Linked DNA regions of Homo sapiens: regions 1, 3 and 4 are each linked to region 2. The links are contacts of gene promoters, found by promoter capture Hi-C in blood cells and fetal thymus (Javierre and others, 2016). All regions are on one chromosome and are shown on one strand. Each heading gives the region's core, a stretch centred on a gene start or on the middle of the fragment in contact. The rest is flanking DNA. Distances are from core to core; before and after follow the strand shown.

Region 1 (3,875 bases), core at 483-2,982, 550 kb after region 2:
AAACAAACAAACAAAAAAAAGCAATTCGAAGCCTGGCGCGGTGGCTCACGCCTGTAATGCCAGCACTTTGGGAGGCCGAGGCAGGTGAATCACCTGAGGTCAGGGGTTCAAGACCAGCTTGACCAGCATGGTGAAACCCCATCTCTACTAAAAATACAAAAATGAGCCGGGCGTGGTGGCACATGCCTGTAAGCCCAGCTACTCAGGAGGCTGAGACAGGAGAATTGCTTGAACCTGGGAGGTTGCAGTGAGCCGAGATTGCGCCACTCCACTCCAGCCTGGGTGACAGAGCAAGACTCCATCTCAAAAAAAAAAAAAAGTAAAATAAAATAATAAAAAGTAATTGTGGTTTTAAAAATTCTGGCAATATGCAAGTTTATGAGAAGAAATGAGAAGTTCCTGTAACCCCACCCCCAGCCACCATAATTCAAGTGCTTCTGGAAGAGGCTTGCCCTGAACCTCAGGCAGACTTCTTAGTATGGGTCTCAAACCAGGCCAGCCTGGGCAGAGCTGGGCAAACAGGCCCCTCCCCAGGAAGCAAGGCCATGGAGAGTGGACGGCAAGAAAGCCAGTCAGGGATTCATGAACTCTTATTCACAACCCTTGGTCTCTGGAAAAGAGAATGATCAATTCCAATAGAGTTGGTTGTTAAGGTAAATGATCAATGGGTTGGGGACCCAGAATATGGCTTTAGGAAAAGAGACTAGTGAAACTCAAATTGCTGTTACTGTCCCAGTCATTGTCCAGGGACATTTTCTCCATCAGGTTTACAGTCTAAGCAACTACTTCAAATTTTGCTAACCTTAGTGCCCATTCCACACGATTCATTGGATCCTAAATAATGAAATCCGTGAAGGACCTTGTTTCCTAATCCTGGGTCCCCACGGGTTCTGGCCCCGCTGACTGTAAGGAAACCTCAGTTTCCCAGCTATCCCTCCCCTCTCCCCAGACTCAGCTGTGTTACTACCAGGATAACACAGGGCTCTGCAAACTCAGACACCTGCGGGTGGTGGGAGGGGGGCTGGCGCACGCAGGTGGGGCTGTGGGAATTGGAGACTGGAGGACAGAGACTCCAAGGGGCATTCATTTCCCTGTAGGACTGATCTGTTGCCAGATCTTGTGACTTTGAGAAACCAGAAATCTGGATTTATGTGAAACCTTCTGATTTTTAAATGTTGGCAATTAATTCACATTTTAATATATACAGGGGAGTTCAAAGGAAACATGCCTAGGGGGAACCTGTTTGCTTCCTCTCGTCTGCTGGGCAGAGCACTGTCTTATCTCATTATTCACCCCATGTACAGGAAACACTTAATACATGCTGGCTACTGTTATTATCCCAAACCCCAGCGGCCTTCATGGAGCATGGGCTTGTATCTATTTCTTGCCAGGAAATACAGTGTAACCTCAACTCTGGTAACACTGAAAGTCCGAGGCCCACCTCCATCAATGGCTGCAGTGTGGCGTTTTCTCTAAACTGTCAGTGACCAGAGTACCCACGTTCGTGTAACTCCCTGGAGAGGCAGTGGGGCGGCATCTGCACCTGTCTGCACTCCTTACTCCTCTGCTCTTTTGCTGCACATTCTCACTCTCCTCACCCCTCCCCATCCCCCTCACCTGCAGCCCCCAGCTGGGAGTGGGGCCCACTTGCCCTTCCACGTCTTCTTGTTCTAGTGCTTGAATAACTGGCTGTGGCATTAATTCCCCATTTTATCAATTGGCTCGATATGCAAAAGGCCTATAAAGGAACACTTTGGTTAGCCAAGTCGGAAATTGTTCTTCCTAGATCTAATGCAAATATATATATATATATATATATATATATATATATATATATAAATGACAAAAGGATCCCTCCTCTAACCTGTGCACTTTGCTTAGTGGTAAAAGTAAACACCTAGCAAGAACGATGACCTTCCTATGCCCCTGTTACCTCCCGCAGTTACAGGTCCACCCTCCCTGGGGAAGTTTTTAAAAACTCCAAGAGCCCAGGAATTAATATTCTAATTGAGGCGATTCTAATCTGAAGACAGGGTTGAAACCTTGCTGGGTAGTCAGATAATTAAAGAAGACCTTCATCTTCAGGGTCACAGGGAGAAGACCCAACCTTCCTTCACAAGTTACTGATAAAATCGGGCCACTCTCTGGAAGAAAAAACTTTTCACAAATAAATCCTTTAAATAAGATGTATTAAATTTTCTAATAAAATGCACCTGTAGCCAACTGCTGCTGGAGGCTTTAACACCCATGGCTTTCCTACTGTGAGCTCCCTTAGGGCTCCTGCTTGGATTTTTTTAACTCCTTCTCCACCTGCTAAAATGTAGGTCTGGCTAAGCCTTCTTCAGGTGCCAGAGAATGTTCCCTTCACCCAGACTCTCCAGGTCTCTGCTCAGCTGAGACTCTTCACTTGCTGCAGTTTGCATGAAGTTGCCTCATGTTCCCGCCTAAACCACAGGTTCCTTAAAGGTGGGATCAGGGCTTCCATGTCACTACCGTAGCTCCAGCAGCTCACCAGTCTCATCTTCACTATAGTCAAAAGCAGAAATTTTGGACATCCAAGGCAGAGCCATCTTTGAGCTTTAGTAGGTGCCTTTCAGGTGAGGAAGAGGCCACAAGGCCATTTCTAGGTCTCCAGAATTTTCAGAAAATGAGCTAAGTTAAGCTGCTCCCAGGTAAGCACAATTAGTAATGGACTAAAAATAAAACAGGAACAAAAATCAGAGGGGAAAAGGTAAAGTCACTGATATGGTTTGGCTGTGTCCCACCCAAATCTCTTCCTGTAGTTCCCATAATCCCCACGTGTGGAGGAAGGGATCCGGTGGGAAGTGATTGGAGTATGGAGGTGGTTTCCCCACTGCTGTTCTCGTGAGAGTGAGTTCTCACGAGATCTGATGGTTTCCTAAGCCTCTGGCATTTCCCCTGCTTGCGCTTCTCTTCTGCTGCCATGATTGTAAGTTTCCTGAGGCCTGCCCAGCCACGTGAAACTGTCAATTAAACCTCTTTCCTTTATAAAATTACCCAGTCTTGGGTATTTCTTTATAGCAGTGTCAGAACAGAGTAACACAGTCGTCATCCTAGACTCAGAGTCTTAGCAAAGGGGGTTCAGGTGAGCGTCCCTCCTGAAGCTGGTCCCCCACTGTGCTGCCCCTCCAGCCTTCATGACTGCCGTATTTAAGCCAAAGCTCAAACTCCCTAGTCCAGCACACAGGCCCCAGCCCCATGCACACAAACACTCAAGACTTTTCCTAACCTTGCATGGTTTCCTCACAGTTCACTGCAGCCTTGACTTCCTGCGCTCAAGGGATCCTCCCACCTCAGCCTCCTGAGTAGCTGGGACTCCAGGCACGTGCCACCACGCCCAGCTAATTTTTAAATTTTTTGTAGAGACAGGGTCTATGTTGCCCAGGCTGGTCTTCAACTCCTGGGCTCAAGCAATCCTTCTGCCTTGGCCCTAAGGACTGACTCCCTGGTCTGTCTCCCTACAAGGCCACGGAGAGTGGCCCACTGTCAGGGAAACTCTCTCTTACATCGTGTTTCTGGAACCTGGTACCAAATCTACCACTGTTAAAGACTGAAACTGGCTTTTCTGAAGACAGCAGAAAATAATGAAGTATTTTCCACCTCAGGGAAGATCCAACGAGCCAATCTAGCCTGAGTCTGTGTCCATTCGTCGAGTGTCGAGTCCCTCACTGTCATGGTGGCACACACCTGTGGTCCCAGCTACGTGGAATGCTGAGGTGGGGGTATCGCTTGAGCCCAGGAGGCCAAGGCTGCAGTGAGCCAAGATCAAGCCACTGCACTCCAGCCAGGGTGACAGAACGAGACCCTGTTTCCAAAAAAAAAAAAAAAAAAAAAAGTCCCTCAATCTCCCTAGA
Region 2 (3,728 bases), core at 407-2,906:
TCCAGAGTGGGAGAATGCTGGCCACACTTGCCAAAGCTGCAGTACAAGTTTAAAACAACCAACAAAAACAAAAGCCAAAATCACTTTTCTTTAGGAATGAGGTCAGCACTCTTTTGCACACTCGTTTGTGGGGAGTTAAATATTTGGTGAAGAAAAGGCAGCCTGCCCGCAGGCAAAGCTAGAGATTTCGGCCAGTGGGCATATCTTTCCAAACCCTTGCTACTCCTCTCGATTATTTTCTGCGACATAACACCACTCCACCCCTTGCTGCCTTTCTCTAACTACTTTCTGAAGGCCGTGCCTTTGGGGAAGTGGTTACAAATAAATGGTGTTTGCGCCAAAAGCTAGAGGTTCCTCCAGCTACACGGCAAACCGAAGGAAGCAGTCAGGACATTGAGAGGCACTACACAATGACAACAAACATTGCCAGCGACTGCTGAGCCCCTCCCCCGCGCCAGCCTCAGCCCAGAGAATGCAGGCCCGGGGCTGGCTCGCCGCGGGCCAAACACGGACGCAGCTTGCGCCGGGGGCATCCCGAGCAGAGGCATCCCTCGGTGCCAGGCAGCCGCGGGCCCTCTCCGGGCATCTCCCACCCGGAGTGCTGGGCCAGTGCCCAATAGGAAGCCCCGCGGGGGAACTTTCGCCACTCTTCTGCCACATAAACAAGTCGGGCTCAAGACCGTCCAATGACTGGGCAGGGCGGCGAAACACACTTGGAAGTCCTGGCAGCTTCCCGGACTCGACTGAGTTTAACACTCTAGGAGGAGAGGAACCCAGGGCGGATGCTTCACTCGCCCCCCTTGGCCAGCCCCTTTACCCAGGGCCGAGGATGTTACAAATACGGGCAAATTCTCGCTCCGGCAATCTTTTCCCCGCTGCCTTCCCCTCCTCATCTGCAGCCTGGAAGCAAGTTCAGCAAAAGGCTGAGGCGAAAGTGTTTCCGCGCCCCCGATCGCGCAGGCTCGGTCCACAGGGGCGACTTTCCGGGGCGCGTGGGCTGCAGCGGCCCGACTGCGCGGCGCTCCGGCATCGCGCCCGGGCTCAAGTTTCTGGGTCTTGGAGGCCCCTCCAGTGCGTCCTAGCCAGTCGCCGCAAAGAGTTAACCAAGTGGGGCCGGCCCCGCTCCGCCGCCCCCAGCAGCGCGTCTCCACCGCGCACCCCCGGCCCCGCGCTCGCGGCGATCCTCCTGAACCGCAGCTCTGTCCCGCCCCAGAGCCAGCCAGCCTCCCTCCCGCCCAGCCGACTTGGCTTCCCGCGCGCTCCTCACCGCACTCCTCCGGGCCCCGCGATCCTCCAGCACTTCCTCAGCTGGAAGGGGCTTCACGGAGGACCCTCTGCCCCCGCCGTTCTCCCCGCTTTCCTCCCCGCACCCCCCCAGGAGGTGCCAGTACCGATGCCCTGGATGAAGACGAAGCCGGTGACCATGAGCACTGGGTGCCAGTTAAACTCTAGTGCGCTCCCATCCCAGCCAAGCCCCTCTCGGTAGTGGAGGACCCAGACGAGGGCGAAGATCACCGACAGGAAGCCGACGAGCAGTGCCGACCCCAGCAGCGCCAGGAAGCGCCAGTAGCCCTCCATGGCCATCAGCGCCCCATACTCCGCACCGCGGGGGCCACAAGAACTTGGAGAGGCGGCGGCAGCCCTCTGGGTAGTGGCCGGGCGGCGGGACCGGGGCGTCGACTTCTTGGGGCTGTCTCCGCCTGCGGGGAGGGACTTTCTGGGCTGCTGGCCCGGAATGTGGGGCCTCTTGGGGGTGGGGAGCTGGCCCCAACTCAGAAATGGGCCCCACCCCCGGGATCACGCGGCCGCCGAGGGCGCTCATTGCCTGGTGGCCTCACCCTCTCCCTCGTCCAGCATCCAAGCTCGCAGAGGGCTTCAGTAACAGACCTAGTTAGTTGCTCAAAGAGAAAATTCCGAGGATTTTATACTCACCACTTGCTTTTAACACTTCCCGTGTCTCGTCCTTATTTGTGGGGAGGTTGAGTAGGGCAGTGGTGCGCCCTCTTGGTTAAGAGAAGAGAGGGATCCGTTGGGTAGGGTTATGTGTGTGCTTTTAACTACTAACGAAGCCTCCTTAGCCACAGTGCTGGAGAATTGGCTGTCTCTGACATCAAAGGGTGTTAAGGAGGAACCTGTAAGGTGGTGTAAACTAAAAATAAAATCCTAAGCCCCTCACTGACTGAATGGACCTCCTTGGCCAAGCAGACCCCAGAAAAACCTTAAAGCTGAGTTTCTAGCTACAGCCGGAAGGGAAGTCTACCCCCTCCATTTTGGAATTTAGACTCAACAGCTGACTAGCATTAATGTTTAAAATAGAAATCATAAGGCGGACAGAACAGACTCTTTGTAGCAATAAGACATCAAATTATAAAAAGGACCTAAGTCACACACTCCTACACTTAAGAAATAAACTATGGTCTAACTGCCACAAAGGTTTTCTTTTCCTCTAGAGGCTAAACAAGCACTGGCTTGAGATAAGCAATATTAAAACAATTACAACTTAATCAGTTCACAGATGCTGACCAGCTGAACCCCTGTTGCACCAGCCAGAACTACAGCTTTCACTGGGCTGATTTCAGGAACTTTTTCATGATAAGAAGACCGACCATGGACCGGTTCTGGCCAGTGTACAGGGATTGTGCACTTGTATGCATTCACGTCCTGAAAAGACCTTTTGAAGTGTAGGTTTGAAGTAATACATTTAAATGTATTTGAAGTAATACAATTAAATGTTAAGTCTCCACCCCAAAGAGAACATGTTACATGCATGTTTGTTCAATATGCATGTGTAAGGACCACCTCCATTAATATTCATAGCTCCTCCTGTAACCTGTTACGTATGTATGTTTGGCCAAACTGTTCAGCATAAAGCTCCTACCCCAACCCCTCTGCCTTCCAAGTGCCTGTCTCTGGTCTTAGGCCAGAGGCTATGTTTATCAGCCTATGGAATGGCCTCCTTGCAGGCTATAACCTTTTATAAGAAATAAAGTCTCCTCTTTTTTCAAATTTATAATTTTTTGTTTTAAGTTAACAGTAAAGGCCAGGCGCAGTGCCTCACACCTGTAATCTTAGCACTTTGGGAGGCTAAGGCGGGCAGATCACTTGAGTCCAGGAGTTTGAGAACAGCCTGGGCAACAAGGTGAAACCCTGTCTCTACTGAAAATACAAATGCATGCACCTGTAGCCCCAGCTACTTGGGGGACTGAGGAAGGAGGATCACTTGAGCCCAGAAGGTCGAGGCTGCAGTGAGCTGAGGTTGCACCACTGCACTTCAGCTTGGGTGACAAAGTGAGACTCTGTCTCAAAAAAAAACAAAAAACAAAAAACAAAAAAAACCCAGTAAACCGGGTCCCCATGAGGTGTCTCACAGCTGTAATCCCAGGGCTTTGGGAGGTGGAGGCAAGAGAATCACTTGAGCTCAGGAGAGGTATGATCGCACCACTGCACTGCAGCCTGGTGACAGCTAGACTCTGTCTGGAAACAAAACAAAAACAGCATGGGCAGCGGTGGGCTTGGCCTTATCCTGCAATGAAACTACTTGCAGTTTGCTCTTGAGAGAGGGAAGACAGGAACCTCCTGGACCTGGACTTGCCGTTTAGTGTGACAAATGGATTTTCAAAGTGCCCGCCCACCCAAACCAATTTGAACCAAAGCCCCTCCTTGATGAAGTGAAGCTTGCTCCCTGCCCTCTTTCCAACATTATCCTCACCCTTCTCCACTGGACAAAA
Region 3 (3,646 bases), core at 1,111-3,610, 510 kb after region 2:
CTGGGCATGGTGGCTCACACATGTAACCCCAGGGCTTTGGGAGATGGGAGGGTGCCTGAGGCCAGGAGTTTGAGACCAACCTGGGCAACATAGTGAGACCTTGTCTCTACTTAAAAAAAAGTCAGCCAGGTGTGGTGGCGCACACATGTAGCCCCAGCTACTCAGGAGGCTGAGGTGGGAGTATTGCAGAGTCCAGGAATTCATGGTTGCAATAAGCTATGATTGCACCACTGCACTCTAGTATGGGTGACAGAGCAAGACCCTGTCTCAAAAACAAAAAAAAGAAGTACTTGTCTTTTGTTTATTGATTATATGTCCTCATTATAAAAAAGGGTTTGTTGTGGCTTCTGTTGTCTTATTTCCAGAATCCAAAGACTGTCCTTGCCACCTGCACAGTCCCTGTGATATTTGATACCTAGTCACCATTAACCAGTCCAATACAAAGAGTAACAGCTATTTAAATCAAGATAGGCAGGTAGCCATTTAATACAGTACACTTATAGAAAGATTGTACCCCTTAATTAAAAAATGTCTGAAGTATTAACATGTCCTGAATTTATCCAAATTTCTACCTATGTCAAGTCCGTTTCTCAAATGCATATGTATAAATGTAGCATTTTTACTCCCCATGTTCACTATTTTATGCCTTTCTTTTTTTTTTTTTTTGTACTTTATGTTGTATCTTTTAGCCTAACCTTTAAATATTGGATTCCTAAGGTCCCTTTTATCATTCTGTATTCTCCCTTAAGAAGGTTTTTATCCTCTCTCATTCACTGGGTTATCTATTTGGTGTCACCCCCAGGTAATATCTAGCTCACACTTTCTTCCTGAGTTCAATACCTCAAAGTATGTTTGTATACATGACTTACCTCATGTGGGTGCTTCATAGGTACTGGAAACTCACATTTGAAATAGAAGTTATCTTCCTCTCCTCTAAAATGTCTTTTAACACTGCTTCTGACTTCCCTGACCTCAGTATATAACATTGCCATTCATCTGCCTGGTCCCTCAAGTGAAAAAACACAAAAACCATCGTATGCTCTTCCTTTCCCTTTGTTCCCCTCCCCTCACATATTATAAGCCCCTAGTTCCTGCTATTATTAATGTCATTAAGTTCTCCTAAATTCAGCCATGACCCTTCCCTTCTGTCTCTTAGCTCAAGGCTTCTTCCGGAACCTCATAGCTGATTGTCTTCTTTTGGGCATTGCTTTTCTCAAGTCATTTTGTACACTGCAACTAGAGTGAACTTTTTATAAAAGGCAGCCTGATCATCTGTCCTACTTGAAAGCCCCAGTAGCTTCCCATTTGCTCTTGGGATGAAGTCCTAGTGAAGGGTTATATGCTCATCTTTAGTTCCTCTAAACAGCTTCCCTGACCCTCTGCATCTTCTCTGATAGATTTGGTGTGCCTTTTTATAAGCTCCTTTGTGCTTCATTACGTACTGGCATAGTTGGTTAAAAGCTTTGGTTCTGAAGCCAGACAGCTAGGTTTAAATCCTGACTGCTATTTACTAATTTTATTAATTTGGGCTTCTTATTTAAATCCCTGTCTGACTCATTGGCTCCTTCTGAGAATAATAACAATACCTACATTATAGGGTTGTTGCAGTGATTAACTGAGTTATCACATGTAAATCATATAGAACATAGGTGCTGAGATAAGCTGATAAGATTATTAGAAATCCTGCTTGTTGGCCATGGCTCACACCTGTAATCCTAGCACTTGGTGGGGCCAAGGCAGGCAGATTGCCTGAACTCAGGAGTTCAAGACCAGTCTGGGCAACATGGCGAACCCGTTTCTACTAAAAATACAAGAAAAAAATTAGCTAGGCATGATGGCACATGCCTGTAGTTCCAGCTACTCGGAGGCTGAGGCATGATAATCGCTTGAACCTTGGTGGTGGGAGGTTGCAGTGAGCCAAGATTGTGCTACTGCACTCCACCCTGGGGGACAGAGGGAGACATTTTCTCTCAAAAAAAAAAAAAAAAAAAAAAAAAAAAGGAAAAGAAATCCTGACTGTTGCATGGGACAAAGACTACACCCTTCTCGTTTCTGCTTCTGACTTGGAAAAATTATGGGATTTGAGTTAAGAGAACTTCAGTTCTGGTATCAGTTCAACCATGCACTATTTTTTGTTAACTTAGATAAGCATTACACGTCAGGGTCCTCACCTTCCTCATTCATCAAAAGTGATCTTTGGGCTCTCTTCCAATTCCTGTTTCTCTGATTCTAATAATAGTTTATCCTTAAGCACTTAATGGGTGAAGTAGGCTTACCATAAGGTAGAAAAGATTATCATGATAGTTCAGCTGGGATCTAAAAGTCACTAAAAGTGCAGTTAGCATTAGCGTGGCCTAAAAGTTGTTGAGCTTATGAACTTACCATGAGCCTTCATAACAACCCTCTGCTACTGCCTGGTTGTATTTTAAATAACTATTTTACCCTCATAGGTGAGGACTTTTGTAGAAGAGGCTTACATAGAGATTAGAAAGTGCAGATTGGGGCCCAGTGACTTGAACTTTCTATACTGACCTAAATACTAGTGACATCATTCTCTAAGCCCTTTAAAGCCCTTTCATGATTGCCAGTTCTGTTGGGAAACAACTAGACAAAAAGCAGATTGTAAGTCAAGAAGTAAAGAGTTGTATTTTATACCAGGATGGGAGATGTTGAGTCAGTTGCTGAGTGATTGCCATATTAACCTTATGGAAAGGTATACTTCTACTCACCTGAAATTTTGGGAGGAAGATGTGTTACATATAATTTATTATAATCAGTATACTCTGATAATAACTTTTTATTGCTTGCTTAGTTTTTTCTTCAATTATCCTTTACTATGATTGCCTTGAATTCTTTATAGATTTGTTCCGCCTTGTCCCTTATATAAACTTACTTTATTTTTATTCTTCTCAGTTTCTTTACACTTAACCCTTAATAATAATATGTAATTAGCTAATGTTTCTTGGCCGTACCATGTATTATTCTAAACACCTCATATGTTTTACCCCCATTTAATCCTCTCAATAACCCTAACTTTTGGGGCTCAGAGAGGGTATTAGCACAGAGTCACTCAGCTAATAAGCTAATCTGATTGCAAACAGAATATTCTTAACAACTGTGTGCTATATTATATCTGATCTCATACTTTTATAGTTTTGTACCAAAGTAGTCACTTTACTGCTTATCCCTTCCTGCTTATTTTTAGGTTAAATTGATGGGAGGAAATGGGGACCTTCTTTCTAATAAATACGTAAGCTTTTAAGTGAAAGGGGCACCTTTGTGTGTAAATCACAATGGAACCAAAATTATTAAATGTCTCTTTAATGGTATTCATTGCTTTTTAAAAAAACATAAGTCATGTAAAGCTGTTAAAATACTGATCATTCTGTGTTTTTAATTTAAGAAATAGGCTGGTGATTTGAACAAATCAAGTATAAATTCTTTTTGAGACAACCAGGGAAAATTGAAGACAGGTTAGGTATTAGATGAGATGAAGGAATTATTACTGATGTAGTTAGGTGTGATAATGGTATGTGGTTATTTTTATTTAAATACTGATGTGTTTACTGGGAGAAATAATGTATTTGTTTTAATAATACTCTGGTTGGGAAGGGTGGGATGCAAGGGTACTAGGGAATAGATGAAA
Region 4 (3,722 bases), core at 872-3,371, 570 kb after region 2:
CTTGTGGTACTAATCTGACCTGAGTATTCTTCTAACTAGAGAGGGGGTATTTTTCTATTGCAAACTGAAAATTTGTCATTCAAATATAGCAGCTTCTCTGCAAATGTAGTTTATATGAGGAAGTGCCTCTTGTAATGAATAAATTTTGAATGCCTCGAATAGATCCTATTTCTGGGCATTTACAAACCTGGGCAATGGACAATGATAATTTGATCAAGTATTGCCCCATATAGGCCAGACTCTTGGATGACACATCTATCTTACTTTTCTCAAACTGCAACAAGTTAGAATACTTGTGGCGAAACATTCAGCTGGAGAATCTCAGGTAGTGTGGGTAAAGATACTGTGAGCAAACGGAAGCTTTTCCTGCCTGCAGCAACTAAGTTATCCTTTTCCCAGCATGGGATTAGAACTTTTGAAAACATGTGGAATGTTTCCAAATTCTAGGCTTTTCTATAATTATGGCTTATGCGCAATAATTTCTCAATTAAAAAGAAATGCTGTTAGCTCTTAGGTTAGTAAAGAAAAGGACTATAGTATATATACTATGTTCCCTAGATATGTACTTTAAAAAAATTGGTTTCAATATTCTAGACTAGCTCTTCCCTTTTTTTTAAGAGGAGTCTTAAAATAAACCAGTAATTTCTTTCAAAATAAAAACAATCAATGTCTGCAACATATCTGACTGGTATGTTTAAGCAGTCATAACTTAGTCTAAAAAATGACCTTACCTGCCTTCTCCACCCCATGCAGAATTTGGTGTAATAATCACTTCTCGACAGTTATCAGTGTCTGTGTTGTACACATACAGTTTCAATGGTTTTGCTTCATGTGTTTCGATAAGGCTGAATAGATCTTCAGACTGCAAAAGTGTCACAGGAGAAAATGTTTCACGTTACCATACTTTGGAACAGTGTGTCTCAAACCTGGCTATCAGAATCACCTGAGAAATCTAAGAAAAAAATACAGATTCTGGGCCCTGCCCCAGACATAAAAATCACAAGCAGGTTTAATTCAATATATTAATTCAAGCAAAGCCTACTTACTACATACAAGGCTTTATGGCCAGTTCCTTAAGATCTAGTTGGCACTCTTAGTACAATTCTTTTACACCCGAGTTCTACATATTCTGCTTTTACTTCCCATTATTAAGACCTGGTTGTCTGGGCACCTCATTTCTCACTCTTTTTTTTTTCTTCTTTTTTTGAGACAGGGTCTCTCTAACTGTTGCCTGGGCTAGAGTGCAGTGGCATGATTTTGCCTCACTGCAGCCTCAACCTCTCAGGCTCAAGTGATCCTTCCACCTCAGCCTCCCAGGTAGCTGGGACTATAGGCATGCACCACCATGCCTGGCTAATTTTTGTATTTGTTGTAGAGACAAGGTCTCACTATGCTGCCCAGACTGGTCTCGAACTCCTGAGCTCAAGTAATTCTCCCATCTCGGCCTCCCAAAGTGCTGAGATTATGGGCATGAGCCACTGTGCCCAGCCTTTTCTCTCATTTTTGATTTAGCAATGTATACTTCCGCTAGCTAAGAGACAAGGAAAAGGATGTAATATAGCTGAGCTAATGCTGTCACTGAACAAAAAGGGGAAGAGAAAATGAAATCAATGAACAATTGAAAATGAGAATTTGATTTAGACTTCAGGTATGCAAAGATTTCTGTATATTACACATAAAATCTGTGCAATTGCCGCACAGTATGTGTTTTTCCTCACAGCTATACCTAATAAGACACCTACCAGATGTTCCATTTAACACCCTGAGGCTTAAGTTATTTTTGATCAGCAAAGACTGAAATTTTAACTCTAAATGCAAAGCATGCAAATATCTTTCTCAACTCAAACCTCAATGAGAAAATTTTATATAGTTCTCACTATGAATAAACACACGAATTACCTCATTCATGACTGTATCTGCTCCAATTATATAATCACTGTGTGGTCTAAGACCTGCCAGTGCTGCAGGAGAATTTGATTCCACCTCCTAGAATGACATAAACACACACCCTAAAATTAATATATATAAAATAATCTTCCAAGGTTTATAGTCCAATTTTTAATTATGTTGATTTTTTAAATCTGTATACTTCTGTCTTGCTAGAGATGTGTCAGATGTCAGAAACTACAGAATATATTTTAAACTTCTGAGCATAAAAATTACATAATATTTAACAAATATTTAAAATATTTTTGTAGCTATCTACTCTAACACATCTTATAATGAATAAATCATTAGAAAAAGTTCTTAAACTTGTACATTTGCTTCTCTTCCTCAACTTAAAAAAAAATTGATCCATACTTAAAAAGCAATGAACGCTGATTTTTGGCAAAAATTGCCTATTAATAATATCCTTACAATCTTATTAAGCCAGAAACAACCATTGTTAAAACATCTTTCCACACTGCTTCATGAACCTCCAGTAACAGTTCACAGTTGATACGTACCAGCACATGCCAAACATTTTCATTTGCCCCATCAAAGCTGCAGAAACGAATGCTCACTCCCAATAAGCCCTGGCCGCCCCACAGGTTACTTGGTGTGACTGAGGTCTCTCGCAGTTCCAATGTTTTGCTGCTATAGATAAGCATCTTTACAGGCTTTTCAACGTTTGCTTTCAGCAGATCCTTAAGAGTGTCATTGTCTTTATTCTGTGAACACATAGAAATCACATTCCTTAGTAAATAAAAATTTAATGTTAGCTTAAGCATCCTATGGCCCTATAAGAGTAATATTAATAATCAACATAAATAAAACATTCAACAAAGGTTTCACCAACATTTAAATTTTCTTCTATGTAAAAGAATGTCAAGAAATTAAGAACTCTTACGTTAGCAACAACTTGAAACTGACTTTTTTCTAATAGCTCATTATGGATTATGGAATTTGCAACCCAACATTATTTAGAATGATCTAGGGCTTCAATGTGTAAAAACAAAATATGCCATAAGAAGTCACATTACTAACGAAGTTGTGATGACTTTGATTATAAAAATCTAAAACATTTACTGGGGTTAACGTTTAATTTTGGACTCTATTTCTAAATACATGCTTTATTAAGAGCTGGATAGAAAAGAAAGTAGAAACAGCATATTAAATATTTCATTTCATAAACAAATAAAGGCCAGATGTTGGCCTTTATTTATATGTCAGAGATGTTGTAAGTAATGAACGAAAACTTAAGACTGTTACGAAAAATTAAACCAACCAAGTGGCTACTGTCCTAAGAATTTGCTGAGATTATATAATTTCTTTATCTTAGAACTTTATTATGGGTAAACTCTAAACAAGGTATAAAAAGTGGTTTTAATTTGGTACTTTGGAGCACATCTCTCTGTCTGGTTCTAATAACATTATTCATATATTGTGAAACTTAGCACCAAGAAAACTGACGAGTTTGAGAGAATGAGATGAGAGAATGAATCTTTCTAGTAATCCATTTGTCAACAACCAACAGAAGTCTGACATCTTTAAAAAGCAATCTTTTACATCTTAATTATTTCTTTCTGCTTATAAAAATTAAATATTTAACATATAAAAGACTCCACTGATTCTAGAGACTTCCCTAAGATAATCAGTGGAGCATAAGGTATAATATTATAGATATTTCAATGTTTATTAATACATGATTATTTCTATAAATTGGCATACTACACATAATGATTGTAACTAATAAATACCCATCTCAGGTCATCTGAAAAATTCCATTTTTGAGAGATTAC

The links. Contacts are between HindIII fragments. The CHiCAGO score rates a contact against its expected background, and 5 or more counts as called.
Region 1: a fragment that was not itself captured here is called in contact with the fragment with the promoter of CYBRD1 in region 2 in 1 of 17 cell types (megakaryocytes); the score reaches 7.1 in megakaryocytes.
Region 3: a contact is called between a fragment that was not itself captured here and the fragment with the promoter of CYBRD1 in region 2, in 1 of 17 cell types (erythroblasts). The highest score is 5.8, in erythroblasts.
Region 4: a fragment that was not itself captured here is called in contact with the fragment with the promoter of CYBRD1 in region 2 in 2 of 17 cell types (erythroblasts and megakaryocytes); the score reaches 5.7 in erythroblasts.

The regions. Positions count from the first base shown.
Region 1 is chr2:170,967,802-170,971,676 of GRCh38, reverse strand. It overlaps LOC124906091 (a long non-coding RNA gene), which reads right to left and starts at 3,766. Exons shown (of 3, transcript XR_007087293.1): 1 at 2,214-3,766; 2 at 1,618-1,738. The HindIII fragment of the contact is 4,971 bases long and covers 1-3,875 here.
Region 2 is chr2:171,520,402-171,524,129 of GRCh38, reverse strand. CYBRD1 (cytochrome b reductase 1) reads right to left here and starts at 1,656. Exons shown (of 4, transcript NM_024843.4): 1 at 1,392-1,656. The coding sequence starts at 1,584. RefSeq lists silencers at 1,018-1,087, 1,238-1,347 and an enhancer at 1,458-1,567. The HindIII fragment of the contact is 3,994 bases long and covers 1-3,676 here.
Region 3 is chr2:171,007,646-171,011,291 of GRCh38, reverse strand. All of the region lies in intron 14 of TLK1 (tousled like kinase 1), which reads left to right. Among named protein-coding and RNA genes, the nearest start is that of GORASP2, 80 kb to the right of the region's middle. The HindIII fragment of the contact is 1,794 bases long and covers 1,464-3,257 here.
Region 4 is chr2:170,948,468-170,952,189 of GRCh38, reverse strand. GORASP2 (golgi reassembly stacking protein 2) reads right to left here. Exons shown (of 10, transcript NM_015530.5): 3 at 2,448-2,651; 4 at 1,900-1,986; 5 at 732-862. Among named protein-coding and RNA genes, the nearest start is that of GORASP2, 21 kb to the right of the region's middle. The HindIII fragment of the contact is 3,518 bases long and covers 363-3,722 here.